Regions from separate parts of the Homo sapiens genome. Here regions 2, 3, 4 and 5 are each linked to region 1. Evidence: promoter capture Hi-C in human tissues and cell types (Jung and others, 2019). All regions are on one chromosome and are shown on one strand. The core of a region is centred on a gene start or on the middle of the fragment in contact, and the rest is flanking DNA. Distances in the headings are between cores, read along the strand shown. Region 1 holds the start of SOX10 (SRY-box transcription factor 10). Region 2 overlaps JOSD1 (Josephin domain containing 1). Region 3 overlaps DMC1 (DNA meiotic recombinase 1). Region 4 overlaps DMC1 (DNA meiotic recombinase 1). Region 5 holds the start of DDX17 (DEAD-box helicase 17).

Evidence for each region. Contacts are between HindIII fragments. The study calls those that stand out against the background at their distance.
Region 2: a fragment that was not itself captured here is called in contact with the fragment with the promoter of SOX10 in region 1 in 3 of the 25 tissues and cell types used here (dorsolateral prefrontal cortex, lymphoblastoid cells and mesenchymal stem cells).
Region 3: a fragment that was not itself captured here is called in contact with the fragment with the promoter of SOX10 in region 1 in 4 of the 25 tissues and cell types used here (dorsolateral prefrontal cortex, lymphoblastoid cells, mesenchymal stem cells and 1 more).
Region 4: a contact is called between a fragment that was not itself captured here and the fragment with the promoter of SOX10 in region 1, in 4 of the 25 tissues and cell types used here (dorsolateral prefrontal cortex, lymphoblastoid cells, mesenchymal stem cells and 1 more).
Region 5: the fragment with the promoter of DDX17 here is called in contact with the fragment with the promoter of SOX10 in region 1 in 3 of the 25 tissues and cell types used here (liver, lymphoblastoid cells and mesenchymal stem cells).

What each region holds. Positions count from the first base shown.
Region 1 is chr22:37,981,173-37,987,409 of GRCh38, reverse strand. It overlaps SOX10 (SRY-box transcription factor 10), which reads left to right and starts at 2,855. Exons shown (of 4, transcript NM_006941.4): 1 at 2,855-3,071; 2 at 3,542-4,053. The coding sequence starts at 3,626. It also overlaps a transcript of POLR2F not described here. RefSeq lists enhancers at 960-1,794, 3,749-4,586. The HindIII fragment of the contact is 28,697 bases long and covers 1-6,237 here.
Region 2 is chr22:38,685,702-38,691,938 of GRCh38, reverse strand. It overlaps JOSD1 (Josephin domain containing 1), which reads left to right. Exons shown (of 5, transcript NM_001360236.2): 3 at 2,515-2,643; 4 at 2,810-3,004; 5 at 3,938-6,237. The coding sequence ends at 4,037. Among named protein-coding and RNA genes, the nearest start is that of TOMM22, 6.9 kb to the right of the region's middle. The HindIII fragment of the contact is 8,429 bases long and covers 1-6,237 here.
Region 3 is chr22:38,555,449-38,561,685 of GRCh38, reverse strand. All of the region lies in intron 5 of DMC1 (DNA meiotic recombinase 1), which reads left to right. Among named protein-coding and RNA genes, the nearest start is that of DMC1, 12 kb to the left of the region's middle. The HindIII fragment of the contact is 5,518 bases long and covers 1-5,436 here.
Region 4 is chr22:38,534,231-38,540,467 of GRCh38, reverse strand. DMC1 (DNA meiotic recombinase 1) reads left to right here. Exons shown (of 14, transcript NM_007068.4): 9 at 1,056-1,147; 10 at 1,856-1,929; 11 at 2,059-2,173; 12 at 2,816-2,876. Among named protein-coding and RNA genes, the nearest start is that of DDX17, 31 kb to the right of the region's middle. The HindIII fragment of the contact is 3,555 bases long and covers 2,087-5,641 here.
Region 5 is chr22:38,503,484-38,509,720 of GRCh38, reverse strand. DDX17 (DEAD-box helicase 17) reads left to right here and starts at 3,410. Exons shown (of 13, transcript NM_006386.5): 1 at 3,410-3,770. The coding sequence starts at 3,484. It also overlaps a transcript of DMC1 not described here. RefSeq lists enhancers at 2,575-2,984, 2,562-3,453, 3,385-3,574, 3,454-4,345 and silencers at 3,665-3,934, 3,965-4,134. The HindIII fragment of the contact is 16,171 bases long and covers 1-3,679 here.

The sequences.
Region 1 (6,237 bases), core at 1,606-4,105:
TCACTGCTGACCGGAGGCAGCTCTGCCAGGCAGTGTCATCAGTGGGCTTCACGTTTGACTGACAGGTATTCCTTTCCTCTCCTCCTCTCTGGGGCCCATCTTCTGAGTAAATCCGGGACCTGCCTTAACAAAAGCCAGGCTGAGTCCCAGGAAAACCCTGTTGCTCCGGAAAGGCCTCCTTGGGCCATGGAAGGAAGCCTGGATTTCCACCATTACACTCAGACCGCAGACCCCTCTCTGCTGCAGAATAAACACCCTGAGAGAAGGCAGGTCATAGAGCCTACCAGACACCACACCTTGCCATGGACGGTGACAAACCCTCACTTCAGGACAGAGAGGTGATGGGGGGTGGGGTAAGGAGGTCACAAGCATCCCTGGAGAAGGGTCAAGAATGAGGGGGTAAAGGGACCCCTGCCACCCCCAGCAGGGAAAGGAGGAGAAGGTGACACTGGCCCTCCTGTTGTCCTGCTGGGGCAGAGGCCCAGGTGTCTTCAGCCAGGATCCCTCCCCTCTCCAAGCTCCCTGCTCTTCAGGAATGACTATGGGTCCTTCACCCTTGCCTGCTGGAGAGCACTGGGTTCCCAGGGCCTGGGATGGGATGGAGGGGATCCCAGTTGCCAGCATGGTGGGCAGGGATGTGTTCGCAGCAGGGGCCCCAACCACACACACACAGCACTGGTCATCTGACAGCCCTTCCCACCCGCCCTGCAGGCCCACCTGCCTCACCCAACACTGCTCAGCAAAAAGCCCAGCACAGCCCTGAGAGGAAGGCAGTGTCTGTGCGGGGACAAGGGAGAGAGAGAGGGAGTGGCCCCTTCTGTCTAGCGTGGCTTCCTGCAGACAGAGCGTGCCCACTGCTACCCCCACCCCCATCCTGGCACAGCTGGACCAAGGAGGGCAAAGGAGGAAGCAGGGAGTTAGAGAGGGGGCAGCTGTGGGACCCCACATTCCACCTCCTAACTCTGGGCTCTTTCCTTCCACAACCACCCCTCCTGCCCCAGGCGGGTCTCAGGCCAGTCACAGACACAGCAGAGAGCGGGGAGGTCCTTTCCTCAAAGAGGAGGAACTGAGGGGTGGAAGGATGAGTGGGGACCCACCGGGAGAGAGAGATGCCAGGCAGGCAGGCAGCGGGCGGGCAGCAGCGGGTGTTGGAGGCGACTGCAGGGCAGCCGGGACACGACGGCAGATGCTCGTCCCTCGTCCCTCTGTCCATCCAGGGCGGCTCCTCTCCGGGCGGTTCTGAGGCCGAGCGGGCGCTGTTAAAAAGCTTTTTATGTGTGTGTGTGTTAATCACATGATTGCCGTTCACCTGTATTTCGAACAAAGACAGCTCACTGTTTCAAGGCCCCGAACAAGAGTCTGGGCACAGGGAAGAGAAGGGAGGCGGGGGGAGGAGGGTTGGCAGCGCCGGGGGTGGCGTCGAGGAAAACTGGGGGGAGATTGTCCAAGGCCAGCAAGCGAGAGAAAGAGAAAACCCTTATCAAACTCCTAATTCACTGGGCTCCGAGGCCCCAGACACACTGGCCCGATTGTCTGGCTGGTTGTGTGTGTGAGCATGTGTGTGTGTGTGTGTGTGTGTGTGTGTGTGTGTTCCAGTGTCTGCTCCCCCCACCCCCAACATGCCTCTGCCTCGTGTGACTACCTCATTGTGTCCCATTTCCCACCCCCTACACCCCTTTGGACTTTCCCAAGCATGAGGCCTTGCCTCCCCAGACCCTTTGCAGCCCACTCCAGACAGGACCCCTTGGGGTGGTCTTGGGGCTTTGCCCTGCTGTTGAGGAGCTCAGAACGTCACATGGTTGCCAATGCGACCCCAGCTCCATTACATAACCCACATACACCCCACCTCGGCCTCAACACCCCGGCGGGGCTGCCCTCAGTTAAGAGAACAGCACTGCGACCTTTGGAGGAGAGGCCAAGGAAAGAGAGAGAAAAAGGTGTCAACGGAGGATGGGCAGGAAAGAAAAGGGGAGGGAGGGAGAGGTGGGCAGAGGAGGGAAGAGGCAGGGCAAGTCCCCACCCCTTGTTGGGGTGGGGGAGTAGAGGACTTCGTGACAATCAGGACTAGGACTCCCCTACCCTCTCCCAAGACAGGGTGAGCCCAGTGTGGAAGGAGCTGGGTCCCAGTAGGTAGCAACCCAAAATGCCTCTAAGACCTACTGAGAGAGGGCCCCCAACCTGTCCCACCTTGGCCTCCTGGCAGCTTTAGTCTTGTGTTTCCACCTTGAACCAGACCAGAACGCGCGTGTGCTGGGTGTCTGCAGAGAAGGGACCAGGGGTCAAGCTGGGGCTCTGCACTTCTCAGAGGGATCCCTGAGAAGTCTCTCTTACTGTGCAGGATGGGGCAGAAAGGGCTGCCTGGGAAAAGGTAGGAGGCAGGGTGAGGAGCTGGGCATCAGTGCCTGGCACACACTAGGCACTCAACAGGATTTCGCAGACGAAGCAGCTAGGGCCAGCCACCCTCACGGGCCCCCAGGACCCTCACCGCCTTCACGTCTCTCCCTAGTCCCCTGCCAAGTGCCCATCCTGCCACCTGAGGCAGACGTTAGGAGTCCTGGTTGGGCCCAATTTTCTTCCATCCAACAGGTTCTGACCCTCCAGCCTACATCTCTTCCTTCCTCGGCCTAACCTCCCCTCCACCTCCCAGACTAAGCCCAAGATAAGCCTCAGCAAGATGGGCCTGGGCAGTAGGGCAGGGAGCTGGGTGGGGGGGCCTGGGCTCCGGGTGGAGGAGCCCTGAGTGTTGGGGATGAAGGAAAGCCTGGAGGCTCCACCTTCTGCCCTTCCCTCCCTCCTCTCCCCTCCCCCCTCTCCCCCTCCTTCCTTCCCCAGCCCTCCGCAGCGGCTCAGGCTCAGTCGCTCAGTCAGTCTCGGGCTGTCCGGCCAGGGTGGTTGGTGGTAAGGATTCAGGCTCCGTCCTAACGAGGCCGTGGCCTGAGGCTCAGGGCCCCCCGCCCCTCCCTCCCAGCCCACCAGCGTCACCTCCCAGCCCCGAGCTGGACCGCACACCTTGGGACACGGTTTTCCACTTCCTAAGGACGAGCCCCAGACTGGAGGAGAGGTCCGAGGAGGTGAGTGCGCAGCCTGCTCCTCCCTGGCCCGCCCAGGCCTGGGACCCTGCTGTGAGGTGGAGAGAGGCGACACCCCGCCCTTGCCCCCCACCTGGCTCTCCTCTAAACCCCGTTGGGGCAGGCTGAGGGAAGAAGGAAAGGTGAGAGAAAAGGTGGGAAATTCCAGGGGCCGGGATTAGAGCAAAATAAAGGCTCCGTTTTTTTCTTCCTTATCATCAACAAACCTCCACCCAAAAAAGGAGGCTAAAAAAAAAGCCACCCACACCAAGAGACGGTTGGGACCAGGTGGTGGGAAGACACAGAGGCGGGACGCACCCACCTAGAGTCTGGCATGTGCGTGGGCCCCAGGGGCCAGATGGGTTTAGCTGGAGCAGGAAGGGCCGCCACCTCGGGGCTGTGCCCACGTCCTGTCTCGGGCCGCCCTCGGGGCTGCGCGCGCGGCCGCTCCATCGCGCCCTCCTTCCATCCAGGTGGGCGTTGGACTCTTTGCGAGGACCCCGGCGGCTGGCCCGGGGGAGGCGGCCGAGGCGGCGGCGGCGGCGGCCGGGGGCGACATGGCGGAGGAGCAGGACCTATCGGAGGTGGAGCTGAGCCCCGTGGGCTCGGAGGAGCCCCGCTGCCTGTCCCCGGGGAGCGCGCCCTCGCTAGGGCCCGACGGCGGCGGCGGCGGATCGGGCCTGCGAGCCAGCCCGGGGCCAGGCGAGCTGGGCAAGGTCAAGAAGGAGCAGCAGGACGGCGAGGCGGACGATGACAAGTTCCCCGTGTGCATCCGCGAGGCCGTCAGCCAGGTGCTCAGCGGCTACGACTGGACGCTGGTGCCCATGCCCGTGCGCGTCAACGGCGCCAGCAAAAGCAAGCCGCACGTCAAGCGGCCCATGAACGCCTTCATGGTGTGGGCTCAGGCAGCGCGCAGGAAGCTCGCGGACCAGTACCCGCACCTGCACAACGCTGAGCTCAGCAAGACGCTGGGCAAGCTCTGGAGGTGAGCACCCGACCGCCCCCCGGGCTCGGGCCCTCTAGCTTCGGGTGGATTCAGGGTAGCCGAGGCGGCCCGGCCTCCTGCACCTCAGAGCGGGACTGTCTGGCAGTCCTCCTTGGATAGGGCTGGAAGACCAGGTGTGGGGGCCGCGCCCGCCCTTCCATCACAAGGACCCTGGAACTCGGAACTCCAGCGGCCTAGGCCGGGTCTCCCTACGGGGCGGCGGGCAGGAAGGCGCCCCCTCGTGGTTGGAATTTTGCGGGTGGCAGACCGTGGGGCCTGGGGCTTTGGAGGGAGGGAAGGAGGCCTTCACTAACTCCTGCCCACAGATACGCACACTATGCCACCAGCTGCTGTGGTCAGGAGGATACGAGGGAAACGCTTGGAAAGAACCAAAGGGTTGGCTGGAGATTCAGGGAAACTGAGGCAGTCAGATGGAGAACTCAGGGGAGGTTTAAAGAAAACGGAATTCAGATGAGAGTCTTTGGAAGAGTGAGGGATGAAGAACTGCGGGACAAATCTGCTGCTGCGGGACCTCATCCTATCCTAGGGCTCTTCCCTGGGACTTTCTGACGCCACCCTCCTTTGAGTTGGGGGCTTCTTCATCCTCCTAGGGAGAGGACACACAGTAAGGGGCTCCCCCTCCTGCCCTGCCCCAGAGTCACCAAGCTGATCTCTTTCCTCCCTCTCCCAGTTCGGCGCCATCTTCCCTGCCAGGGCCCCACCCCAACGTTGAGCAACCTCTTCCCCACTGCCCCAGAGCTGGAGCTGAGCACTCTGGCCAGAAGGAAACCTTGGCCTCCTTCCTGCCCAGGGGCCCTCAGAGTCCCAGGTTCCCTGGGACCAGCCCACACCTCTAGGAAAAACATCCCCCGCAGGGAGCAATTATCCCACCCTCGACTCAGGTCTGGGGTTCAGCCAGGCCTCCTGGGGATGTGTGGAACAAGACAGTCCCCCACTCCCACCCGGGAGTGCCAGAGCAGCTCTGAAAGAGACCAGGGACTCCAGGAGATGTGAGCCGGTAGCAGTCACCTGATTCTCGCTAGACTGACCAAGAGACAGGCCCAGAAAGGCAAAGGAATCACAAAGGTCACATAGAAGTTGGTAGCAGAGCCAGGGCCAGAACCCAGGACTCCCATACTCTCTGTCCAGAGGACTTCCCCTGACCCTGGTGACAGTGGTGGATCACCTACACTTTGAGGAGTGGTCAGGAGGTTGGGGGGAAGCAAGAAGATGAGAACAAGAGTGAGGAGCATCTGGGTTCCAGAAAATTAGGGCTTTGTCAGAGGAGCCCGGCTCTCTTCCGCTGCCCTCCCCCTTGCCAGCCACAGTTGGGTAGAGATTGGGTCTAGAGGCTTAGAGTGGTAGAAGGTGCAGGAGGATCTCCAAGAGACCAAAAGATTCACATCCCGCCCCCTGGCCTGTTCTTGCCATGTGTTTGCTGAAGACCTGGTGCCCCTTCCCCTGCCCCTTCTCAGCCCTCAGTGCCCTGCTCACCCAGGGCAGGCCCAGGGCTCAGCGACCAGCCCGCTGTGTGGACCCAGACAGCCCAGTTCTGCCCAAGAGCAGAGGTCACAGCTAGCTCCTCCACCCAAGGTCCATCCAGATCTGGGTGGGGCTTGGCCCAGGCCAGTATCTTTAGTGCCAGGGGACAAAGAGCAAGTGAGAAACAGACAACCAGGAGAGACATACAGATAGGGCAGACTCTGGGGACCATGAGAAGACCACAGTACGAGCCCAACGAGAGTCAAAGCAAGGACGGACCTCATTTTCCCTCCATCTCCCATTGCCAAGGGTTTAAGATTGGCTCCTCCATTGTCCCTGTCCCCAGGTTCCCCCAGCCCAGAACCCTGGGCTTGGACTCCCTTCAGGAGGACTTATTCTTGGCCATCACTCAAGCTGTGTGCACAGGGGCCAGCCTGAGGTGTGGCAGTCAGGAAAACTGGCACTACTTGCTGAGGACCCAATCCCAATGGGAGGATGGGGCCAGAACCATGGCAAGGATCAAAGGCAATGCCAACAGAGGGTGGCTCCCTGGACCCTGGAGGGGGGTCCTGAGAGACATTTGGATTTGGGCTGGGCTGGCCAATTGCTCCAGGGGCTTCTCCTGAAACCTCCCCAAGCTGTGACTCCTGGGATGTCAAGAAGTGGGGTGGTTAGGTAGGCAGAGCTGGAAAACAGGTGTCT
Region 2 (6,237 bases), core at 1,570-4,069, 700 kb before region 1:
TCTTTAGGCCCCTAGCAGTGTAGCGTTCACAGATAGTCAAGGCCCCTGCTGTCAGTCTAGTGTAGAAAAACAGACCAATGAGAAACACATCTGGTAGTGACAGGGCTGTAATTAAATCAAAAGGTTGATGTGAGGTAGTGACTGGGAGAAACTTATGGTTGGGTGGTCAAGAAAAGGCCTCTCCGGAGGTTGTAGTAAGCTGAGATCACTCCATTGCACTCCAGCCTGGGCGACAGAGCCAGACTCTGTCTCAAAAAAAGAAAAAGAAAAGGCCTCTCTATGGCAGTAACATTTGACACCCAAACAATAAGGAACTACAGAAAGAACATTCTAGACAGCGGGAACAGTGAGTGCATGAGTGCACAGTGAGAAAAAGAGCTTTGTTTTTAGGGAACAGTAAGAAGGTCAGTGTAATAAAAGGTAAGAGATGAGATCTGCAGGACCTTGAGGGCCTTGCATGCCAAAGGAAGTAGTTTAGAGTGTATTTAAGTGCTTTAGGTGCCATCAGAAGGTTTTAAGCAGTGGCAGGAGTATGTTTGTTGTTTTTAATTCTGTGGGTTTTTTTTTTTTTTCTTTTTTTTTGAGACAGGGTCTTACTCTATCACCCAGGCTGGAGTGCAGTCATGGCTCACCACAGCCTTGACTTCCCTGGCTCAGGTGATCTTCCCACCTCAGCCTCCCGAGTAGCTGGGACCATAGGCACATGCCACCATGCCCGCCTAATTTTTGTATTTTTTGCAGAGACAGTGTTTTGCCATGTTGCCCAAGCTGGTCTCTAACTCCCAGGCTCAAGCGATACTCCCACCTTGGCCTCCCAAAGTGCTGGGATTGCAGGTGTGAGCCACCACTCCCGGCCAGGAGCATGGGGTTTTGTTTTGTTTTGTTTGTTGGTTTGTTTTTTGAGACGGAGTCTCACTCTGTCACCCAGGCTGGATGCAGTGGTGACATCCAGCCTCTGCCTCCTATGTTCGGCTCACTGCAGCCTCTGCCTCCTACGTTCAAGCAGTTAGCTGCCTCAGTCTCCTGAGTAGTTGAGACTACAGGCGTGCACCACCACGCCTGGCTAATTTTTGTATTTTTAGTAGAGACGGGGTTTCACCATGTTACCCAGGCTGGTCTTGAACTCCTGACCTCAAGTGATCTGCCCACCTCAGCCTCCCAGAGTGCCGGAATTACAAGCATGAGCCACCGCGCCTGGCCAGGAGTATGTTTTATATTTGAAAAATACCAGTATTGCTGAGTTCAGTGGCTCACACCTGTAATCCCAGCACTTTGGGAGGCTGAGGCGGGTGGATCACAAGGTTAGGAGTTCGAGACCAACCAGCCTGGCCAACGTAGTGAAACCCCATCTCAACTAAAAATACAAAAATTAGGTGGGCGTGGTGGCGGGTGCCTGTAATCCCAGCTACTTGGGAGGCTAAGGCAAGAGAATCACTTGAACGCAGGAGACGGAGGTTGCAGTGGGCTGAGATCGCGCCATCACACTCCAGCCTGGGCGACAGAGCAAGACTCCGACTCAAAAAAAAAAGAAAGAAAAAAAATACCAGTATTTCTGCTGTGCACAGAAAAATTTTAAAAATACAAGATTTCTTAAGTTTTTTAGAGTTGACATCCTTGGCCTAACGTCTTGATTCTTTTCTGGAGATGGCATGTAGTAGCCTCTTGATCATGCACTTTATGTCCTGAGGAACTCGCCACACTTCCCTTTCTCCCCTTCACACGAAGCCCAAAGGTATGCCCCTTGAACCCTTCCTTCAAAATGGCCTTTCCCCAGCTCCTGGCCTGACAAGTTTATGAAGGTAAAATAATAGAATTAGAAATGCCTTCAGCATGGACCTTGTCTTAAAATACAGACTGGCTAAAGAAACCTGGAAGTAAATGGCTTCAAGCTGGGTGGGCAAACCAGTGCTGCAGCTGAGTTTTGTTTGCCTGGCACAAATTTTTTTTCAGTTGATTTATTGGGTATTTTAAGAAAAATTTATTCAAGTACTACACACACACACACACACACACACACACACACACAGAATGCCTTTAGGTGGGTCGTGCATTCCAGTAGGCCTCACTACTTTTTATTGCCTTATATCCAACCCCAGTTTATACATTTATGTCACCTGTCTAGGCTCCTGTATGCCTTTGAGTATTTAATGATTAATGATTACCAAGTTTGCAGGCCTTAACTAGAAAGCAGGAGTGACACCAGTTACTATCCATGCAAATGAAAAGATTGAATCCTATTTTCCAATGTTAAAAAAAAAAAAGGCTTGCATGAGGCAGGAAAATCAGTATCAGGAGGAAGAGCAGAAAGGCTGCAGGAGGCTGGGATTTCATAAGTGAGTCACCTTCATGGAACACTTACAAAATACTTAGGTAGAAGCTGGGGAAATTGCACTTGAATGTGGGGAAACTAACTTCCAGGGGCAGTGATGTAAAGTGCTCTCCATCCCTGGTAGTGCGGGGTCAGGGGGTTCAGGCATCCAGCAAGTCTCAGCCCTCCTCTTTTCACATTGGTAGGTTGTCTCCAAACACCATGGTGACACCTCACAAGAAGAGCATGCTGGGAAATGGCAACTACGATGTGAATGTCATTATGGCAGCACTTCAGACCAAAGGCTATGAAGCTGTTTGGTGGGACAAGCGCAGGTAATCTGAATCAGGCTTGACTTGATGGAGAACAGCACGGTTGTGGTATAAGCTTTTAGTACTTGGGCTCATGGCATGAGTGGGGAGGTAGCCAGTTGTGGTATTACAGCCAGGGAACCTTGGAAAATGGGCTGCATCAGAGCCTGCCACCATTTCTCCCCTGCAGGGATGTCGGTGTCATTGCCCTCACTAACGTCATGGGCTTCATCATGAATCTGCCCTCCAGCCTATGCTGGGGTCCACTGAAACTGCCCCTCAAAAGGCAGCACTGGATCTGTGTTCGAGAGGTGGGAGGGGCCTACTACAACCTCGACTCCAAACTCAAGATGCCCGAGTGGATTGGAGGCGAGAGCGAGCTCAGGTAATCGGCACCTTTTGTGACTAAGTTGCTAGGCTGCTTCATTTCTTAGGTTGGGGACACTGAGCTCATCTCTGGTTATTTGACAAAGGAAATGAAATTCCTGTGCCCTTGGATTCTCTCCCTGCCTTAGAATCATAGTGTCTCGGACCTGACCTTAATCTTCAATGGCGCATCAGTACTTTTAAGTCCTTTTGGTAGGGAAGATGCCCAGCCTGGGATACCAGCCTTCTAGTCTGGTGGGGCTGGCATTGTAACGTTCTCTCTATTTAAGACAACTGAGACAGTGTAGTTGCCAGTTCATAGAAAGGAAGACAAACATGCAGGCCAGGGAGCACTGAATTTCCCCAGGACCAAAGAACATTTGTAAAAGTTCTTTAGAGGCGATTGCTCACGCCTGTAATCTCAGCACTTTGGGAGGCCAAGGCGGGTGGATCACCTGAGGTCAGGAGTTCGAGACCAGCCTGACCAACACGGTGAAACTCTGTCTCTACTAAAAATACAAAAATTAGCCAGGCGTGGTGGCGGACGCCTGTAATCCCAGCTGGTCAGGAGGCTGAGGCAGGAGAATCACTTGAACCTGGGAGGCAGAGGTTGCAGTGAGCCGAGATCATGCCATTGCACTCCAGCCCAGGCGACAAGAGCGAAACTCCGTCTCCAAACAAACCAAGAAAAAGTCCTTTATATACTTTGGGTACTGTTATTCACAGATCCAGCTACTCTTGGCAGTAACTACAAGGATGAGCAAAATTCAGGTTGGAATTTTAACTGGACAGATTGGAGGGTAACCAAATGTGGAACCCTCCAAAACCAGATGACTACAGGGATGTGTTTTGGACTGCCGAGGGTAGAGTGAGGTTTCAGGTGACTTTGTGGTCCTGAGACTGGAATTTGCAACTTGCCAGCATTTCATTTTCTCTATCTCTTTTTCCATAGGAAGTTTCTAAAACATCATTTGCGAGGAAAGAACTGTGAACTCCTGCTGGTGGTACCAGAAGAGGTAGAGGCTCATCAGAGTTGGAGGACCGATGTGTAACAGTTCTGCCCAACCTCCCTCTCGCCTCAGCCCCTTCAGTCCTCTGTGACGTGCTGTGGCCTCTACAGTGGGTCTGCCCTTGCCACTTCCCCAAACATCTCATCAAGTTTTTCCCCTTCAGATCTGACAGTGCAATAGGACAGACGTGTGGACTGTTATAAGAACTACTCAGTGTTTTGTTCCTGGGCAAGGAAGGTAGGAGTTCTGTGCACTTAAGGCCAGTGGTCACAAACCCTTGTTTTATTTAAGAGACAGAGGAGAAAGTGGAGCGGGGAGGGAATCCTAGCTTATTTTCCCTTTTCTATGAGGACTTGACACAGGTTCTGCTGAGTTGTCACTGCTGCTCCAGACTCACCTAGAGATGCTGCCTCCACTTTCCATCCTGTCTGGGTCTGAAAACAGTGGGTCTGCAGATAGTGCCCACAAACCCCATGTGACTGGTTTGAAGGACCCAGAGCATAAAGGTCTCTCAGGAAACCATGTCCAAAACCCTAGCAGCGGTACAGCATGCTGTCTCCAACCCTTATCCCCAGGTTTAAGGGTGGTTTATGGCCATACGTGGAGGTTTTTTGTTGTTGTTTTTGAGACTGAGTTTCACTCTTGTTGCCCAGGCTGGAGTGCAATGGCACCATCTCGGCTCACTGCAACCTCCACCTCCTGGTTCAAGCGATTCTCAGGCCTCAGCTTCCCAAGTAGTTGGGATTACAGGCGCCTGCCACCACACCTGGCTAATTTTGTATTTTTAGTAGAGATGGGGTTTCTCCATGTTGGTCAGGCTGGTCTCAAACTCCCGACCTCAAGTGATCTGCCCGCCTTGGCCTCCCAAAGTGCTGGGATTACAGGCGTGAGCCACCGCACCCGGCAGAGTTTTATAATGAAAAATTAACTAATATTCTAGTATGAAGTGAGGAGGATACTGAACAGGATGTGGCTAAAGCCAACCTGGGACAGCCATGGGGTGGCTTGGTTTCTTCACTCCAGTGTTGTCCCTACCATTTCGCAGCATTGATTTAGGAGGCTCTGGGACAAAAGAGAAGCCAAAGAGCAGTTTTCCCAGTTCACTCACTCTGGCAAAATCAGGAAAAAAAAGTCTGCTTTTGACATCAAATTCCACTAATTTGGGGCAGCGTTGGGTGAGGAAAGTATTGTGAAGACAGGCTTCTTGGAGTAGGGGCAGCCACAATTCAGTAGACACTCTAGGCTCGGAGGCTGCCACTGTAGTTGCCAAGCTCAGGTTGGGTGGTTCTGTGCTGTATGGATGGAATAGGACCTGGGCTGGTCATCTTCATGTCGTTTCCTCTCTGTATCAATGGAAGTTCAACCCGCCCCTACCTCTTCAGATAGTTGTAGGCCACTTTTCTCTTGTAACTTTGGAAAACAAAAGAGGAGAAATAAGTATCATACCATATGCGTGTCTCCAAAGTGGATGTGGTTGCCTCAAGGCAGGTGGCAGGCAGGGGTGACCTGCTGGCCCTCAGATCAATGGTCGTGGCAGGTCTGAGAGCTGTCCCACTGGCCAGACTTCTCTCCAGCAGCAAAGCCAGCCTGGGGCTTGCATGTTGATCCTGAGCAAGCTTAACGGGGTGAAGCTGGGCTTTCTCCCCCCTGTGACTGGAGTGCATGTTGACACCAGCACTTTTTCTGCACATGTATCTTCAATCCAACAAGGCCGTTTTTTTAATGCTGAGTAACAGGCCACCAAGCGGCTACTGCGTTATATCTTCTCAGCAACTGGCCGCAGTCTCTTCTGCACCATTTTCTACACCAGACCTGCTTGGCACCACAGGGAGCTCTTTTCCTGCCCTGCACAATGACATTCCAACCACCACCAGCCAGACATTACAGCCAACCTTGCTGATTGTCACAAGCAGGACCTTGGGGCCACTGGCACTGTCAGATAGTAAGCCATTTCTTGGGTAGAGGAGGAAACTCCTCTCCACAAATCCACTTGGGCCTGTGCAAATGGCACTTGAAAGAGTCCCCATGCACTTGGAGTCCATGAGCCAATGGGATATGCAAAGACGCTTAAACATTTCAGGGCTGGTTTCTCTGTTCATATCCAATTCTGGTGCTTAGGAACAGGGACCCATGCTGATGCCCAAGGGCAAAAAGCCCCACTTCCTTTAAGGAAGTGAACAGGCCTGACCCTGATGCCCAATAACGGGCAACCCTAGGCTTTTTGTTTTTCTTGCTTTTATTC
Region 3 (6,237 bases), core at 1,428-3,927, 570 kb before region 1:
GATACATTAAGAAAAAAAGGATTTCATAGTCAAATATACCTCCACTTGAACGTCTAATTGATAGCTCAGACTTCACAGGTCCAAAAATCAAACTTCTGACCTTTGCCCCAAATCTGCTTCTCCCAAAGTCTCCCTCATCTTAGATCTATCTCTTTCCTGATCCTCTGACCTAAAACCTGGGTGTTATCCTTGACATCTTTTTTCTCTCACACACCCTAACTCTAACCCATTAATAAATCCTGTCTGTTCTAATTTCAAAATATATTTAGTCAGAACAAACCTCCCAGTTTCCTCAACAAATAAATTACAAGGAGGAAAAAAGAGATGGAGTCAGGGAGAAGACCTATAGATTAAAGAGATTTAAAAGACATATCACCTGGCCGGGTGCAGTGGGTGACACCTGTAATCCCAGCACCTTGGGAGGCCAAGGCTGGAGGTGGGGAGGGGATCTCTTGAGATCATCCTAACGGCAAACTGAGACCTTGTCTCTACAAAAAAAAAAAAAAATTAATTAGCTGGGTGTGATGGTGCACACCTGTAGTTCTAGCTACTCAGCAGTCTGAGTGAGATAGAAGGATTGCTAGAGCCCAGGAGGTTGAGGTTGAGGCTCTAGTGAGCCGCGATCATGCCACTGCACTCTAGCCTGGGTGACGCAGAGAGAAACCTTGTCTGAAAAAAAAAAATTAAGGAATTACTAAATTTAAGTGTGATAGTGGGAATATGGTTGTTAAAGATGAGAGTCTTCATCTTCATCTTTTAGGGATACATACTGAAATATTTATAATGAAATGATATGTTGCTTAGTATATGCTTAAAATAATATGGGAAGGGAGGTAAATGGTTAGTGGTCTATATGAAAAAAGATTTACCCTGAGTTCATAGTTGACGATTGTTGAAGCTGAGTGATAGACACGATGGTTCATTATTTTTTTTCTACATTTGTTTATGCTTGATATTTTCTATAATAAAAGATTAATATATAATATATGTTATTTTTATGTGTATATGTGTGTGTGTACATAGAGAGTGAGAATATAATTCAACTATTTCTTACCACCTCTACTGTTACCTCACTGGACTAAACTACCACCTATTAATATCTCCCCTGGATTATTATAATAACCTCTAATTAACCTCCCTCCTTGAGACCTTGCCCCTACTGTTTTGTTTTTTTTTTTAATTCACTAAAGAGCCAGAATGGTCACTTTAAAACATAGGTTAGGCTGGAATGCAGTGGCTCATAACACCCTGATGATTCCCCCTCTCACTCAGAAAAGAAGCCAAAGTCCTCTCCCATCTCTAATATTTCACTTTTCTAGTTTTCTATGTACCAGCCATAGTGACCTCTTTGCTATTCCCAGAATATGTCAGATACACTCCTGCATCAGGGCCTTTGCACTTTGTGCTGCCTCTGCCTATCATATTCTTTCCTCTTAGATCTACATGGCTTGCTGTCATCTCTTTCAGGTCTTGGCAAAAATGTCCATGTCTCAATGAGAACTTCTCTGATCACTTTATTTGACAGTATAACCTCCTAACTTTCATACTCTGTCTTCCTTGTCCCCTTTCCTGGCCTTATTTTTATCCATACCATTTAATAACATCTGATGTACTACATATTTTACTTATTTGTGTTTATTTTTTATTTTATTTATTTATTTTTTTTTTCAGACGGAGTCTTGCTCTGTCACCCAGGCTGGAGTGCAGTGGCATGATCTCAGCTCACTGCAACCTCTGCTGCCCAGGTTCAAGCGATTCACCTGCCTCAGCCTCCCGAGTAGCTGGGATTACAGGTGCCCGCCACCACGCCCGGCTAATTTTTGTACTTTTAGTAGAGACAGGGTTTCAGCATCTTGGCCAGGCTGGTCTTGAACTCCTGATCCCATGATCCACCGCTTCAGCCTCCCAAAGTGCTGGGATTACAGGTGTGAGCTACCGGCGCCTGGCCTATTTGTGTTTATTATCTAATCTCTCACTAGATTGTAAACTTCGTGAGAGAAAAAAATTCTGTCTCTTTTGTTCTCTAGTTTATCCCAAGTGCACAAAACAATCCCTGGCATAAACTAGGTGTGCAATAAATATTTGTTGAATGACTAAATGAATGAATAAACAAATAGTGAATAAGTTTGAGAAGTACCATATACTATATATTCTTCTTGAAGAGTCACAGCGCACACTAGCCTGTGAAATCCTGCAGTGACACAAAACACCTGTTTTGGCAGGGCACGGTGGCCCACACCTGTAATCACAGCACTTCGGGAGGCCAAGATGGGTGGATCACCTTAGGTCAGGAGTTCTAGACCAGCCTGGCCAACATGGTGAAACCCTGTCTCTACTAAAAATTACCAAAAAAATGGCTGGGCACGGTGGCTCACACCTTTAATCCCAGCGTTTTGGGAGGCCGAGGCGGGTGGATCACTTGAGATCAGGAGTTCGAGACCAGCCTAACCAACATGGAGAAACCCCGTCTCTACTAAAAATACAAAAAATTAGCCGGGCATGGTGGCATGTGCCTGTGGTCACAGCTACTCGGGAGGCTGAGGCAGGAGAATCGCTTGAACCTGGGAGATGGAGGTTGTGGTGAGCCGAGATCGTGCCACTGCACTCCAGCCTGGGCAATAGAGTGAGACTCAGTCTCAAAAGAAAAAAAGAAAAAGAAAATACCTGTTTAACCCAGCATTGTCCCAGACTTTTAAAATCACATACCCTTTTTTCAAGTAAAGTTAAGGAAGAGGCTTGGAGAAATCCTACCCCTAGGCAAATTGGTCAAAATGAGGTTGATCAACAAAACACTTGATTCAAATGACAATCTGATTTTCTTTAGTTACTCTACCACATGGTGGTCTAAGAACCACTGGGCTAAAGAAATAATTACTGTTATTGTGAGTTTTCTGGTGCCCTTGATGTTTGCTCTTGAGAACAGAAAAGATCATTCAGGAGCTAGGTTTTTTTTTGTTGTTTGTTTGCTTTTGAGACAGAGTCTTGCTGTGTCGCCCAGGCTGGAGTGCAGTGGCATGATCTCGGCTCACTGCAACCTCCGCCTCCTGGGTTCAAGCAATTCTCCTGCCTCAGCCTCCTGAGTAGCTGGGACTACAGGTGTGTGCCACCACACCGGGCTAATTTTTGTATTTTTAGTAGAGACAGAGTTTCACCATGTTGGCCAGGCTGGCCTCGAACTCCTGACCTCAGATGATCCACTTGCCTCGGCCTCCCAAAGTACTGGGATTACAGATGTGAGCCACTGCGCCCAGCCAGGAGCTAGGTTTTTAAAAATTAATATTTAATTAATTAAAATATTATACATTTTTCCTTAAGCTTTAAGTCCCTTTATAAATCTAGCACATTTTAAGGGTGCTTTTATAACAAGATTAAATTCTCTTAAACATTTTAATTATGTTTATACATTTAGTGTATTGTATTTTCTTTAAGAACTTTATTTGTTGGCCAGGTGCACTGGCTCACACCTGTAATCCCAACACTTTGGGAGGCTGAGGCGGGTGGATCACAAGGTCTCTACTAAAGACAGGATCACCCTGTCTCTACTAAAAATACAAAAATTAGCCGGGCATGGTGGCGGGTGCCTGTAATCCCAGCTACTCAGGAGGCTGATGCAGAGAATTGCTTGAATCCAGGAGGCAGAGGTTGCAGTGAGCCAAGATCACGCCACTGCATTCCAGCCTGGGCGACAGAGTGAGACTCCGTCTCAAAAAAAAAAAAAAAAAAAAAAAAGAACTTTGTCTAATTATCTAATTATTAACAGCAAAATCTTCCCAATTACCTAAATATCTTTTGTAACTCAAATAAATTTAGAAGTATAGTGAGTTGTAGGCACCATTAAATGTTCAAATACTATTTATAAAATTAGTTATCAACTTGAAAATTGAAGGAATGTACCATTTAATCAGTCAGAGGCCAATCCATTACAAAAAGGTCAAATTATCTTAAACGTTAAAAGGTCTCAAATAGCAAATATGCACAGGTTATTACCAAATTTATTTATTTATATTCTATTTTATTTTTTGAGACACGGTCTCACTCTGTCACCCAGGCTAAAATGCAGTGGCTCCATCACGGCTCACTGCAGCCTGAGTAGATGGGACTGCAGGCACAGGCCAGCATACCTGGCTAATTTTGGTATTTTCTGTAGAGACTGGGTTTCGCCATGTTATCCAGGCTGGTCTTGAACTCCCAGGCTCGAGCGATCCACCTCCCTCGGCCTCCCAAAGTGCTAAGATTACAGACATGAGCCACCATGCCCATATTGCCAAATTTAATATGAAAATAGTAATCTATGGGTTTGATTTGTGTCTCTATTTTTAAATCTCCCTATATTTAAAAACACTATTTCTACACTTAATTCTAAATTTTCCTGAGTCTCAAAAAGGAAACAATTGTGCTATCCCAAATAATTTGGGGTATCCTCACAGGTAAATTTTGGGGTTACCTTTTCAGCTGATTGAGATTACATATCAACCAGGAATTTTGTCTGGGATTTTCCAGAGGTATAGCTTTCCAGGGTAATTTTTCTCAGGAAGAAGAGGGACAAATAAAGCTTTCTTTAATAGTTGCTAGCCCAACCACCATGGCACACGTTTACCTATGTAACAAACCTGCATATCTGGCACATGTACCCCTGAATTTAAAATAAAAGTTGAAGAAAAAAATAGTTGCTGGGCCTATAAGATTTCCAAGTGTATTCCCTCCAAATGGGTTGATCGCTTAGCCCATGTCCTTTAGATTTAAGTTGTGCAGGTACACTATCTAGATTTTTCTTTTCCTTATTGAAGTCTGCAGCCCTCACTAAATTTGTGGATAACTTCCAACATTGTTTCAATTTACATTTAAATTGCTCTCTTAAACTATGTAAATGTAAATGTATTGGATTATCTATATATCTTAAATTTTTGTCTGACCTGTGATCACATCCCAAAAAATCATGTTAATAGACTACATACAAGGTTTTTAAAGTGCCCCTACCAGGTCTTAGCACAATTAACACAATTAATATGTGTTGCATTTAATGAATGAATGAGATCATGACTTAAATTTAGGCCTTTTCTTATTCAGAGCTTTAAATGCACTACAACATTGGGCTACCAATTAAATGTATGCTGTCAGAATCTGACAGTTACTCTTCTAACTGCTAGCATTACCTACAACATCTTTGACATTTACTATTCTGACATGTCCTCCATAATATTTGGTTTATGTGAGATAACCTGACCATAATGACAATCACTGGATTTTCCTAATACCTGTTTTTCATATGTTTTTCAGTATATTAAAAACTGAAGCCGGGCATGATGGCTCATGTCTATAATCCCAGCACTTTGGAAGGCCAAGGTGGGCAGATCTCTTGAGCCTCAGGAGTTTGAGACCAGCCTGGGCAACATAGCAAGACCCCAGCCATACAAAAAATAAAAAATTAGCCCTGTGTCAGGTGACAGAACAAGATTCTGTCTCAAAAAAGAAAAAGAAAAAACATTGAAAATTCAATTGACTATAGAAACATAGTTCCAGCACAATATTAAATACCCAATTAATAACTAAGATGGGCTGGGCATGGTGGCTTATGCCTGTAATCCCAGCACTTTGGGAAGCCAAGGCAGGCGGATCACCTGAGGTCAGGAGTTCGAGACCAACCTGGCCAATATGGTGAAACCCCATTTCTACTAAAAATACAAAAATTAGCCTGGCGTGGTGGCAGGCACCTGTAATCCCAGCTACTCGTGAGGCTGAGGCAGGAGAATCTCTTGAACCTGGTAGGCGGAGGCTGCAGTGAGCCAAGATCACGCCACTGCATTCCAGCCTGGGCGACAGAGCAAGACTCCATCTCGAAAAAAAAAAAATAATAATAATAATAATTAAGACGATCTGTAACTCCAATTCAATTCTAAAGACTAGTAAGACATAAGGCCTTGCTAACCCATTTACTATTTTTTTAAGTTTTTTCTTAAAATAATTTATTATTATTATTTTTTAAGCCTACAGCATGCAGTATTCCCAGGTTCCATTTACTATTGAAGTAAGAACGATAGGGCTTATCATTTGTTTTGCTGATCCACTTGCCCATACACAATAGAACCTGTGATCTAGCAAGTGGCATGCTATTTGTTCAGCCAAGAATTGCTGTTCATGTTCTGTAGATAGATAGGTAGATGATAGAATAGATAGATAGATACATAGATAGGAAGGATACTAATGATATGAATACTTTCTCCTCTCTTAATATTTCTA
Region 4 (6,237 bases), core at 2,615-5,114, 550 kb before region 1:
GTTTATTACTCCTTTATAGTTTATAGGTATAAGTGATTATTAGCTTCTTCCAGAATACTTTTGCAGGTGCACTTAGTTTGCTTCCCTATGAATTTGCTAATTTCAGAAAGCTAACAACTCCTGGCTAGGCATGGTGGCTCATGCCTGTAATCCTATCACTTTGGGAGGCCGAGGCAGGCATATCACTTGAGGTCAGTAGTTTGAAACCAGCCTGGCCAACATGGTGAAACCCCGTCTCCACTAAAAATACAAAAATTAGCTAGGTATGATGGCTCGCGCCTGTAATCACAGCTACTCAGGAGACTGAAGGAGGAGAAAACAAAAAAAAAGCTAACAACTCCTTTAGAAGAAAGTAGATTTTAAACTGTATATACTTTCCAGGTAAGATTTGAAAAGAAAAAGAAAACCTATGCCAACAAAAAACCTTTGGTCGATATTTCTCTTCTGGGCCCTTGAAGTTACCTTTTTGACCCTTTGGTTCATGTAGTCAAATTTATCATTTAACAACATGTGATTAATAATATAATAAACTATTTCATATTGAGGAATGAGGGGTATGAAGAGAGTGAATTAATTCACTTTGCAGTTATTGAATTATAATTCAGTGATATTATCTATTACAGGTCTATTTTTATAGATCTGAGAACAAAAGGACTCACAAAGCTTAGTTCCTAGTTTTTCTCTTGTAACTGATTTGCTGCATAAGCTCAAGTCATTTGCCTAATCTCTGTTTGCCAGTGTCTTACGTTGTAAAATGTAAAACAGGCCATAAAAACTAGCTTCCAAGGTTATTGTAAAGTTTTGATAATTTAATAGTTAAAGTCATTACTGCCTCACATTTCTATGACCATTATCACTACCTATGGTAAGTTGAGGCACTTATGAATAAACAAATCTTGTATAGACTTTAAATGGTTGCTAGCATCCTCTAGAATACCTTCACAGGTACATTGTTTGGCTTCTCTGTTAATTTACGGAAGATATTATGTTTTGTAGTGGTTGTCTAAACTTTTTTAGAATTGACTTATTGGATCCTTAATCTTGGCATACTCCAGCCGTCCAGATCGCCTTAGGGACATTGCTGATCGCTTTAATGTAGACCATGATGCAGTACTGGACAACGTACTTTATGCACGTGCATATACTAGTAAGAGCCCCATGCAGTTGGATGCTTGGGTCAATGTAAGGTTGGCAGCACTGATTTACTACTTGAGGGATACAACATTTTGATACTTTTTTTCTATTTTATTTTTCTCTAAATTAATTTACTCAGTCTATAAATTTTATCATCTGGTAAGTCCTTAGATAATAAAGTGCCCTCAAATTATTTATTATTCTTTGTCTTTGAAATTAAGAGTAACATTCTTTTTGGATAATGTAGCATTTGGTATACATGCTAAGGCAGAATATGCAATAATTTTTTTTTTTTTTTGAGATGGAGTCTCGCTCTGTCACTCAGGCTGGAGTGCAGTGGTATGATCTCGGCTCACTGCAACCTCCAACTCCTGGCTTCAAGTGATTCTCCTACCTCAGCCTCCCAAGTCGCTGGGATTACAGGCACACGCCACCACACCCAGCTAATTTTTGTATTTTTTAGTAGAGTCAGGGTTTCACCATGTTGGCAAGGCTGGTCTTGAACTCCTGACCCCAAGTGATCCACCTGCCTCGGCCTCCCAAAGTGTTGGGATTATAGGCATGAGCCACCATGCCCTGCTGCAATAATATTTAATAAAGTCATCAATAATTAAGAAAATCCTTCAAGGAATTTATTTTGCCTGGCTCCCAAGAATATGAATGATCTTAGCCTCTGCTTCTTTCAACTTTTATAACATTTTCTCACTGCATTTCCCATCAGGTGAACATCAGATGGAGCTACTTGATTATGTAGCAGCAAAGTTCCATGAAGAAGCTGGCATCTTCAAGCTATTGGTACAAGCTTTTAAATATTGCTTTCACAGAGCTATTTAGCATAATATTTTTCTTCTATTGATCTCTATTCAAATAACGTCTTCCTTCAATTTCCAAATGCATGTTTATTTTTACATTAATCCTGTGTAGATTATCGATTCAATAATGGCACTTTTTCGAGTGGATTTCAGTGGCCGTGGGGAGTTGGCCGAACGGCAGCAAAAATTGGCCCAGATGTTGTCACGACTCCAAAAAATCTCAGAAGGTATATCTTTAAAATAAAATGGCATCTGTGACTATGTTTGTCAAGTATACTTTGCAGAGAAGCTTGGAATATAATGTCAGGAGGCAGCGATTTTTTTTTAAATAAAATTACCTTTATGAGAATACAACTCTTTGTTTTTTTTTTGTTTTTTGAGATGGTATCTCGCTCTGTTGCCCAGGCTGGAGTGCAGTGGTGCGATCTCGGCTCACTGCAACCTCCGCCTCCCAGGTTCAAGCAATTCTTCCTCCTTAGCCTCCTGAGTAGCTGGAATTACAGGCACCTGCCATCACACCAGGCCAATTTTTTGTATATTTAGTAGAGACGGGGTTTCACCATGTTGGCCAGGCTGGTCTCGAGCTCCTGACCTCGTGATCTGTCCGCCTCAGCCTCCCAAAGTGCTGGGATTACAGGCATGAGCCGCTGAGCCCGGCTTTACAACTCTTTTTAAACCAAAAATATTTATTCTAACCTTAATAATAATAATAACAAATAATTTCTGTTGTCAATGAAAAATAGGAATATGATGTTATTTATAAAATAAATTCATGATGCAATATGTCTAAACTCTGAAATCTAAACAATGAACTTTTAAATATCTATATTGCCTTTCTCATAGTTTTAAAATTTTATCTCTTGATGCAGAATATAACGTGGCTGTTTTTGTGACCAATCAAATGACTGCCGATCCAGGAGCAACTATGACGTAAGCCCCAATATTCTACTTTTTATTTCACAGAGGTTAATATAAAGAGGGTTAGAGCGTAGAATAGAAAATAATTTCAAGGCCGGGCACGGTGGCTCACGCCTGTAATTCCAGCACTTTAGCAGGCTGAGGCAGGCGGATCACGAGGTCAGGAGATGGAGACCAGCCTGACTAACATAGTGAAACCCCGTCTCTACTAAAAATACAGAGATTAGCCGGGTGTGGTGGCGCACACCTGTAATCTCAGCTACTCCGGAGGCTGAGGCAGAAGAATCACTTGAACCTGGGAGGTGGAGGTTGTAGTAAGCCGAGATCGCGCCATTGTACTCCTGTCTGGGAAACAGAGCAAGATTCTATCTCAAAAAGAAAAAAGAAAAAAGAAAAGAATTTAAAAATCATTAGTCTTTATGTGGGCACAAATATATCACAAATCACTTTATTACTGGGCGCAGTGGCTCATGCCTGTAATCCCAACACTTTGGGAGGCCTAGATGGTTGGATCACCTGAGGTCAGGAGTTCAAGACCAGCCTGGCCAACATGATGAAGCCTCGTCTCTACTAAAAATACAAAAAATTAGCTGGGCGTGGTGGCGTGCACCTGTAATCCCAGCTATTCGGGAGGCTGAGGTGGGAGAATCACTTGAACCTGGGAGGCGGAGGTTGCAGTGAGCCAAGATCATGCCATTGCACTCCAGCTTGTGCAACAAGAGCAAAACTGCATCTCAAAAAAAAAATCACTTTATTGCACAGTGTATATGACTTCATAATTGTAAATATCACTTGGTAACCAGAATCTATTTTTCTCTAGTTCTTTATAGAATAAAGCAATACTTTAACCATTTTCAGCAGTACTTTGGGCTTCTCTTTGGTCTAGGGCTAAAGGGGTATGGGAGGACAATAAGAAATAGATCCTAGGGAAATAAAAACTTATATTGCAGCTTATCAGTATAATAAACACCATTCATAAAAACAAAAAAGTCATCTTTCTACAGGATATACATGAGATATATTTATCAGAGGCACTATGGGAGAAGTCTCCTGTTTGAAGAAAAAGAATTTCAGTTCACACTAGGCATATTCAGAATTTGTTGAAGTGTTTGTGCACATAACTATTGATGACTCTGAAAGACGGCAGTGAATAGAAACACACAGAGAGCTAAAGTAGGATAATAAAAATAGATAAATCAAACAAAGGTTTGTTGCCACCGTAACAAATTTTGAGCATTATGTGTCTGAATAAGCAATCAAAATAATCCTAAATACACACCACTGCACTCCAGCCTGGGAGACAGAGCAAGACTGTCTCAAACAAAGCAAAACAAATCTAAATTCATGATAATGCTTTTTTAAAGTGTGTGTGTGTTTTTTTTTTTTAAGAGACAAGGTTTCACTCTGTCACCCAAGCTGCAATGCAGTGGCACCATCTCTGCTCACTGCAACCTCTGCCTCTCAGGCTCAGGTGATGCTCCAGCCTCAGCCTCCCGAGCAGCTGGGAGGCACACATCGCCACGCCTGGCTAATTTTTTTATTTTTAGAAGAGACAGGGTTTTGCCATGTTGGCCAGGCTGGTCTCGAACTCCTGGCCTCAAGCGATCCTCCCACCTCAGCATCCCAAAGTGCTAGGATTACATGTGTGAGCCCCCTTGCCTAGCCAAAAAGCTTTTAAAAAAATCTTTTAAAGGCTGGGTGCAGTGGGCAGTGGCTCACTGTAATCTCAGCACTTTGGGAGGCCGAGGTGGGAGGATCACCTGAGGTCAGGAGTTCAAGACCAGCCTGGACAACATGGCAAAACCCTGTCTTTACTAAAAATAAAAAAACTAGCCAGGCATGGTGGTGTGCACCTGTAGTCCTAGCTTCTTGGGAGGCTAAGACAGGAGGATCACTTGAACCTGGGAGGCAGAGGTTGAAGTGAGCCAAGATCGTGCCACTGCACTCCAGCCTGGGTGACAGAACAAGACTCCGTCTCAAAAACAAAAAAAAAAAAGATTTTTTTAAAGGTTTTTATTTAGAAAATATTTTTACCAGAGAGAAGTTAAAAAACTAGTGCAATGAATTCATGCCACTGCATTTCAGCCTGGGAGACAGAGCAAGACATACTCATTTATCTAGGTTCATCAGTTGTTAAATTTGCCACATTTTTTCTCTCTCCTGTATGTGTGTGTGTGTGTGTGTGTGTGTGTGGAGGTGTACATACACCTTTGTTTCTCCACACATACACACATTCTCATATGTATATGTATGTGGTATGTGTATACGGTTTTTTGTTTGTTTTTCTTTTTCTTTTTTTTTTTTTGAGACGGAGTCTCGCTCTGTCACCCAGGCTAGAGTGCAGTGGCACGATCCCAGCTCACTGCAGTCTCCGCCTCCCAGGTTCAGGCGATTCTCCTGCCTCAGCCTCCTGAGTAGCTGGAATTACAGGCACCTACCACCACACCCGGCTAATTTTTTGTATTTTTAGTAGAGACGGGGTTTCACCGTGTTAGCCAGGATGGTTTCTATCTCTTGACCTCACGATCCACCTGCCCCGGCCTCCCAAAGTGCTGGGATTACAGGCATAAGCCACTGTGCCCAGCCTCTTTTTTTTTTAGATGGAGTTTCACTCTTGTTTCCCAGGCTGGAGTGCAATGGTGCGATCTCAGCTCACTGCAACCTCCACCTCCTGGGTTCAAGCAATTCTCCTGCCTCAGCCTCCCGAGTAGCTAGGATTACAGGCACCTGCCAACCACCCCTGGCTAATTTTTTTTGTATTTTTAGTAGAGACAGGGTTTCACCACGTTGGCCAGGCTGGTCTCGAACTCCCGACCTCAGGTGTTCCACCCACCTTGGCCTCCCAAAGTCCTGGGATTACAGGCATGACCCACCGCACTCAGTCGTGTTTGTTTGTTTTTTGAGACAGAGTCTTGCTCTGTCACTCAGGCTGGAGTGCAGCAGCACCATCTCAGCTCACTGCAACCTCTGCCTCCTGGGTTCAAGCAATTCTCCTGCCTCAGCCTCCCGAGTAGCTGGGATTACAGGCGCCTGCCACCATGGCCGGCTAATTTTTGTATTTTTAGTAGAGACGGGGTTTCTTCATGTTGGCCAGGCTGGTCTCGAACTCCTGACCTCAGGTGATTCGCCCACCTCAGCCTCCCAAAGTGCTGGGATTACAGGTGTGAGCCACTACGCCCAGCCTGTATATGTATTTTTTGGTGAACCATTTGAGAAGTTTCTTCTGAACCACTGAAAATTATTCACAGACATCATGACACTTCACCTCTTAATACTTCAGCATATCTCTTCTAAGAATAATGATGTTCTTCTACATAGCCACAATATAATTATCACATTCAGAAATTCTAACATTGGCATAATAATGTTATCT
Region 5 (6,237 bases), core at 2,161-4,660, 520 kb before region 1:
TCCAGCCTGGGCGACAGAGTGAGACTCTGTCTCTAAAAAAAAACAAAAAACAAAAAAAGCTACATAGGCCTCTCACAATTTGCCCACAAAGAAATTCCTTGTGGGCCTCCAAGATCTTTACACTAAAACAGTTCCGTTGAATTTCACCCCGACAATGTACATTGATGGTTTACCATCACAAGCACAGGACAAAGGACAAAACTAAAAAGTCATCCCTCTGCTCGCCTGAAACAAACACATAGCTGACTGCTGCCTCTGCTCTATGATTATTTTATCTTACGTGAAAATGCAGATTATCTGAGCGTGAGCAGAAAGCATCAGTGAAGACTATCAAAGACCCAGAAGAGGACACGGACACATGGAGCGGGGGAACAACACATACTGGGGCCTGTTGGGGGTCGGCGGAGGGAGAGCATCGAGAAGAATAGCTAACGGATGCTGGGCCTAATACCGAGGCAAGGGGTTGATCTGTGCAACAAACCACCATGACACACGTTTTCTTGTGTAACAAACTTGTATATCCTGAACATGTACCCCAGAATTAAAATAAAAGTTGATGACAAAGGCCAGGCAAGGTGGCTCACGCCTGTAATCCCAGCACTTTGGGAGGCCGAAGCAGGCAGATCACCTGAATTCAGGAGTTTCAGACCAGCCTGGCCAACATGGTGAAACCCTGTCTCTATTAAAAATGCAAAAATTAGCCAGGTGTGGTGGCGTATGCCTGTAATCCCAACTACTCAGGAAGCTGAGGCAGGAGAATCGCTTGAAACCAAGAGGCGGAGGTTGCAGTGAGCCAACTGCACTCCAGCCTGGGCGACAGAGCGAGACTCTGTCTCAAAAAACAAAAGCCGTTGAGATGTCAGTTGGCCCAGAAACACAAAGGGACAGTCACAGACTCACTGGACAAGGGTATGGCGTGGTCGAATGGCTAAAAGGTCAGGCACTGTGCCAGGTAGGCACTGGGTCACGGTGGTGAACAAGTAAGTTCCTGCACTCACAGATTTTACGCTCTAGGAGGGAGACAAAAAGTGTTTATGTCAAGCAGTTACTAATTCAAATGAAAGCAAAGAAAAATGGAAAAGAGAGAATGCATGTGTACTTGTGAAGGAGGAGAGTATGCAGGTTATGCAGTGTTGCATTGGGTTCTGGGGAGGCCTCCCTGATTGAGTGACATGTGAGCACAGACCTAAACTGAGGTATCTAGCCTTGCTGACATAGAGTAAAGAGCGAGTGCAAAGGCCCTGAGGCCGAGTGTGGCTAGAGTAGAACAAGGAGGAAAGACAGAAGAGGGCTGCATCCTCAAGGGCTTGTAGGCCACTGTAAGGCCTTTGTCTTTTCTTTCAAGTGGAAACCTCTGGAAAATTTTAAGTAAAGTGACATAATAAAAGGACCCCTATGACTGCAGTGTGAAGAATAAATTCAGAGTGAGCAAGGACAGGAGCAGGCAGATTAAAAAGAGGCGAGCGCAGTCATCCAGGCAAGAGATGATGAGGATTGGGGCAGGTTAACAGTGTAAATAAAAGAACATGACCCAGGCCGGTGCGGTGGCTCACGCCTGTAATCCCAGCACTTTGGCAGGTCGACACGGGTGGATCACGAGGTCAGGAGTTCAAGACCAGCCTGGCCAAGATGGTGAAACCCCAGCTAAACTACAAATATTAGCCAAGTGCGAGGGCAAGCACCTGTGATCCCAGCTACACGGGAGGCTGAGGCAGGAGAATTGCCTGAACCCGGGCGGCAGAGGTTGCAGTGAGCCGAGATTGTGCCACTGCACTCCAGACAAAAAAAAGAAAAAGAATATGACCCAGGCGAGTCTCAATCACTTTAAGAGGTTCACTTGCCAATGTTAAGAACGTACTTGGGGAAAAAGAACACATAACCACAGAAAAATCAGTGGTCCATGTTTTTTTTCTTTTTGAAGCTCCTTTTCTTATGCTATGTTCCCAAAAATTTGGGAAACAAACACTCAGCACCCACACTGAGGGGCCAAATCTCCCCGCTTCTACCCATCTGTTGAATTGAGACGTTAGATGGGCCCGTCTCGAGGGCCCTAACAGCTCAACAGTCGTGTGACGCCATTTGGCCAAGCTTGCGGGGCTTCAAAATGCAGTTTGAGACGACAGGAAGCAGGTAAGGAGAGGGAAGCCAGTCTGGAAGGAATTGAGCGGAGAACGTGGACTAGCCTGGTTAAACACTTGTCCTTAGCCTTCGCCCTTTCTGTGTCTAAAGACCATCGCTCTGAAACCTTGTTCTCCTGAGAGTGCTGGGGTCTTCTCCGGGCCTTCTGAGGAGCGCCGTTCAACGGCAGCAAAGGGCCCACGGAGTCCACTGGGGCTCCAAGCAATTTTTTTTTTGAGACGGATTCTTGCCCCGTCGTCCAGGATGGAGTGCAGTGGCACGTTCTCGGCTCACTGCGACCTCCGACTCCCGGGTTCAAGCGATTCTCCTGCCTCAGCCTCCCAAGTAGCTGGGACTACAGGCACCCGCCACCATGTCCTGCTAATTTTTGTATTTTTCGTAGAGACGGGGTTTTGCCATTTTGGCCAGGCTGGTCTCGAACTCCGGGACTCAGGTGATCCTCCCGCCTCGGCCTCCCAAAGTGTTAGTATTACAAGCGTGAGCCACCATGCCTGGCCTCCAAGCACATTTTGTTTCTGTATTAGCAACAGCTGTGCTCGGCCAGGGACGGTAAAAATATACGGTTCAGAAAATGCACCTCAGTGTGAACCAAATGTAGCTGAGGGCACTTTAACCTGGAAGGGACATCGCCACCTCACAAACTCCGGAAAGAAAGGGACACGGCTCTTCCATCATGGCTGCCGGAGACAGAGCAGCGAAAGGCAACGGAAAGGAAATGGCGCCGGGGCCCGCCGCCATTCTCAGCGGGCCCAGGGCGGTGGGGCGAGAGGGCTGGCGGCGCCATATAGGAAGGCCAGCCACGGAATTTAAGACCCTCCCGGCCTCTGGCGCCAGAGGACTCTGAAACTTGATAACAATATGGAGGACGGTTATTGTCTCTGCAAAGCAACTTCTTCAAGCCGGCCGCGGGGTCTGTACCGAGATCGGAATCAGGCAAAATCCTCTATTCTCTAAACAGAATGCGTTACGCATACTGCGCATCTTAGCAACAGCAGGCCGGCTAACGACGCAAAGAATGTTACGTCGCACCAGAGGCGCTTCCTCCCACCTCATCCCACGTTCTAGTTCGGGTGGCGCGAGAACTCTACGCTCGCTCCGTACTTTGTTTTTCTTGTACAGACCGCAAAATACACCCATCGTCGCAACTGACGTAAAGTGCTTCCAAGAATACCCGTAGTTCCCCGCGGAGCCCTCGGGCTATTCCGAGGCGCTGTTTACGTATCGTCTCCGCCGTACGCAGCGTTAAGTTGGAGCCGACTCAGCGGCGGCCGCCATTTTGTGCAGTCGCTGGGAAGGAAGGAGACGCCTAAACCGCGGCACTGCCCGGTTTGAGCGTAGCCAAACCTGCCCACCGGCTTTGTAGCCCCGATTCTCTGTGTTTTGCTCCCGTCTCCGACGAGAGAGGCGGCGACGGTGGCGTCTGCGACGGGAGACAGCGCGTCGGAGCGAGAGAGCGCTGCGCCTGCCGCCGCCCCAACAGCGGAGGCGCCGCCGCCATCGGTCGTCACCAGACCGGAGCCGCAGGCCCTCCCGAGCCCGGCCATCCGTGCCCCGCTCCCAGATCTCTATCCTTTTGGGACCATGCGCGGAGGAGGCTTTGGGGACCGGGACCGGGATCGTGACCGTGGAGGGTAAGGGTGGGGGAGGAGAGGAGAGGCCTGGCGTGGGGGTGGGGGAGTTGCTTCTTGGGGAGGCCCGGCGGACTGCGAGCCTGGGAGCCTTGCTCTCGACCCGGGAGGCGAGGGGAGGCGACTCGAGGCGAGACAGCGGTTTCGTGCGCGGACCTCGGCCCCGGGGTCACTCGGGACCCGAGGAGGGCGGCCGCTTGGCGACGCTGGGCCTCTCCGTGCGGACGGCCGTCGTGGCGCGGCCCGGCCCCATCCCAGCCCCGCGGGGGATCGGGAGGGGCGGCCTGGCCGCATCAGCCCAGGCCCGGGCTTTGGCGCCTCGCCTGGTTTCCCGGCTCTCGAGCCGGGCCGCTTCGGGCGGGCTGTTCGATGTCTCCAGGCCTCGGCGTTCATCTGAAAAACGCGGATCTTCCTGAGAGAACACTTCAGCCCAGGAAAGCCTTACACGAAATGGCACCCTTGACGTTCTCTCCCCAGAGTTCACTGTTTAAGGCACGGGAGACGAAAAGACCAACTTCTCATTTTTAGAAATAGATTTTAATTCTCTTCAGTTATATTTTAAGTCGGAGGAAATGCATTGGGATGTAAAGCAGTGGAGTTGCTTGCCATCTAAATGACCGTGTTTGGGGGAAGGATGGGTTTTTGGGTCGTTACTTTAGTTTTAATCTTAATATTTCAGCCTTTTTTCTCTAATTGGACTGCAGCGTCAACTATTCTGCCTCGCTAGAAAGTTCTTGGTATTGTGGACCGGGCGTGGTGCCTCAGGCCTGTAATCCCAGCGATTTGGGAGGCCGAGGCGGGCGGATCACCGGAGGTCAGGAGTTCGAGACCAGCCTGATCAACATGGAGAAATCCCGTTTCTACTAAAAATAACAAAATTAGCCTGGCTTGGTGGCGCATGCCTGTAATCCCAGCTACTCGGGAGGCCAAGGCAGGAGAATCGCTTGAACCCGGGGGGAGGAGGTTGCAGTGAGCCGAGATCGCGCCATTGCACTCCAGCCCGTGGCAAGAGCGAAACTCCGTCTCCCCCGACCCCCCCGCTTCCCCAAAGAGTTACGTGACGCCACTTGATATGTGTGTGTGTGACCTTGGTCAAGATCCTACCTTTTGTGAGCCTGTTTCCTCTGAGGAACGTGATAATTGCCTTTACTTTGCTGTGTTGTCAGGAATTAAGAGATAATGGATGTAATAGTCTCACTGTAGTAGGCGCTCTGTTAACGATATTTTCTCCAAACGTTTTTGTCTTTTGTGGTTCAGATCCACAACTGCTGGATTTACTAGTCTCAAGCACTTCAGTTGCCACTTTTTACAAAATTATTTTGATTTATACCTTATTAGGAAGGAAAATATTTTATCTCATTGTTTAGAGGATGAGAGGTGGAATGTTTGCTTCGCGTGTGACAGTATTGCTAAGTTTAGAAGTGAATTTCAGTTCATTGACTTAGAAAAAGAACTTGAGATTATCTAGGAAAGTTGAAAACGACCCAGCAATTCCTCCCTAAGCTTTATACCCTAGACTGTAATGCCTAGAGAAATCCTTGCACAGGTACCCCAGGATCCTTGTACAGAAAAGTTTATATACCAGCATTCGTGCTAACAGGATATTGGAAACAACGCAAATGTCTCCATAAATTGTGGGTATTCGTACAATTGAATCAGCCGTGAAAAAGAGAAAAGAACTTGGATTAATGTGGATAAGTCACAGAAGTGTTGAGTTAAAAAGCACGTTGTGGTAGGGTGACACATTTAATTAAGGATATGTGCAAATATGATAGGAAAGGGAGTGGTTAACAAAATTCAAGGTAGTGGTTATTAGGGTGAAAGTTGTAAGCTTGAAATAGGCACATAGAGGGGCTACAAGTTACTAATAGTGTTCTATTTCTTTACCATTGGTGTTTGGTTTAATATTTCCTTTCACCATATATATGCTTTAATAAGTTATTTGAAAGGAAAAAAGTGAATTACTGATCCATACTTTGAGTATCAGATGACATTTTTTAAAAATTTCAAACGAACTAGCCTTCTTTCATAAGATCTGTGCCCCAACTCTCCCTTTCCCAAGAAATGTTCTTGATTATTTGAATTGCTGTTGTTTCAACTGAGTGTTACACAGTTGAAGTGGTGGTTATTTTGAAAAAGGAATAGGTGAGGTCAGTTCATGTATTTCACATGTGTGATGCAAAAATGATAGGCATTGTACATTTGAAGTAGTATGGTTTTTAATGTTAATATATGACTTCAAAGGTGAATTTTTTTGTAAAGCCAAATTAAACTAATTACTGACCGGATAAAAACATTTGAGCAGCATAGTATACCAGAGAGTACAGTGTGCGTATTTAAAGATGGCATGGATATGCTCAAAAGTAAAAGGCTTTCTTGAATTTTGAGGTCATTAATTATGTCAGCATTAATTATAAACATGGAAGACGGCATATTTTCCAAGAACCACATGTTTCAAATTAAATGTTTA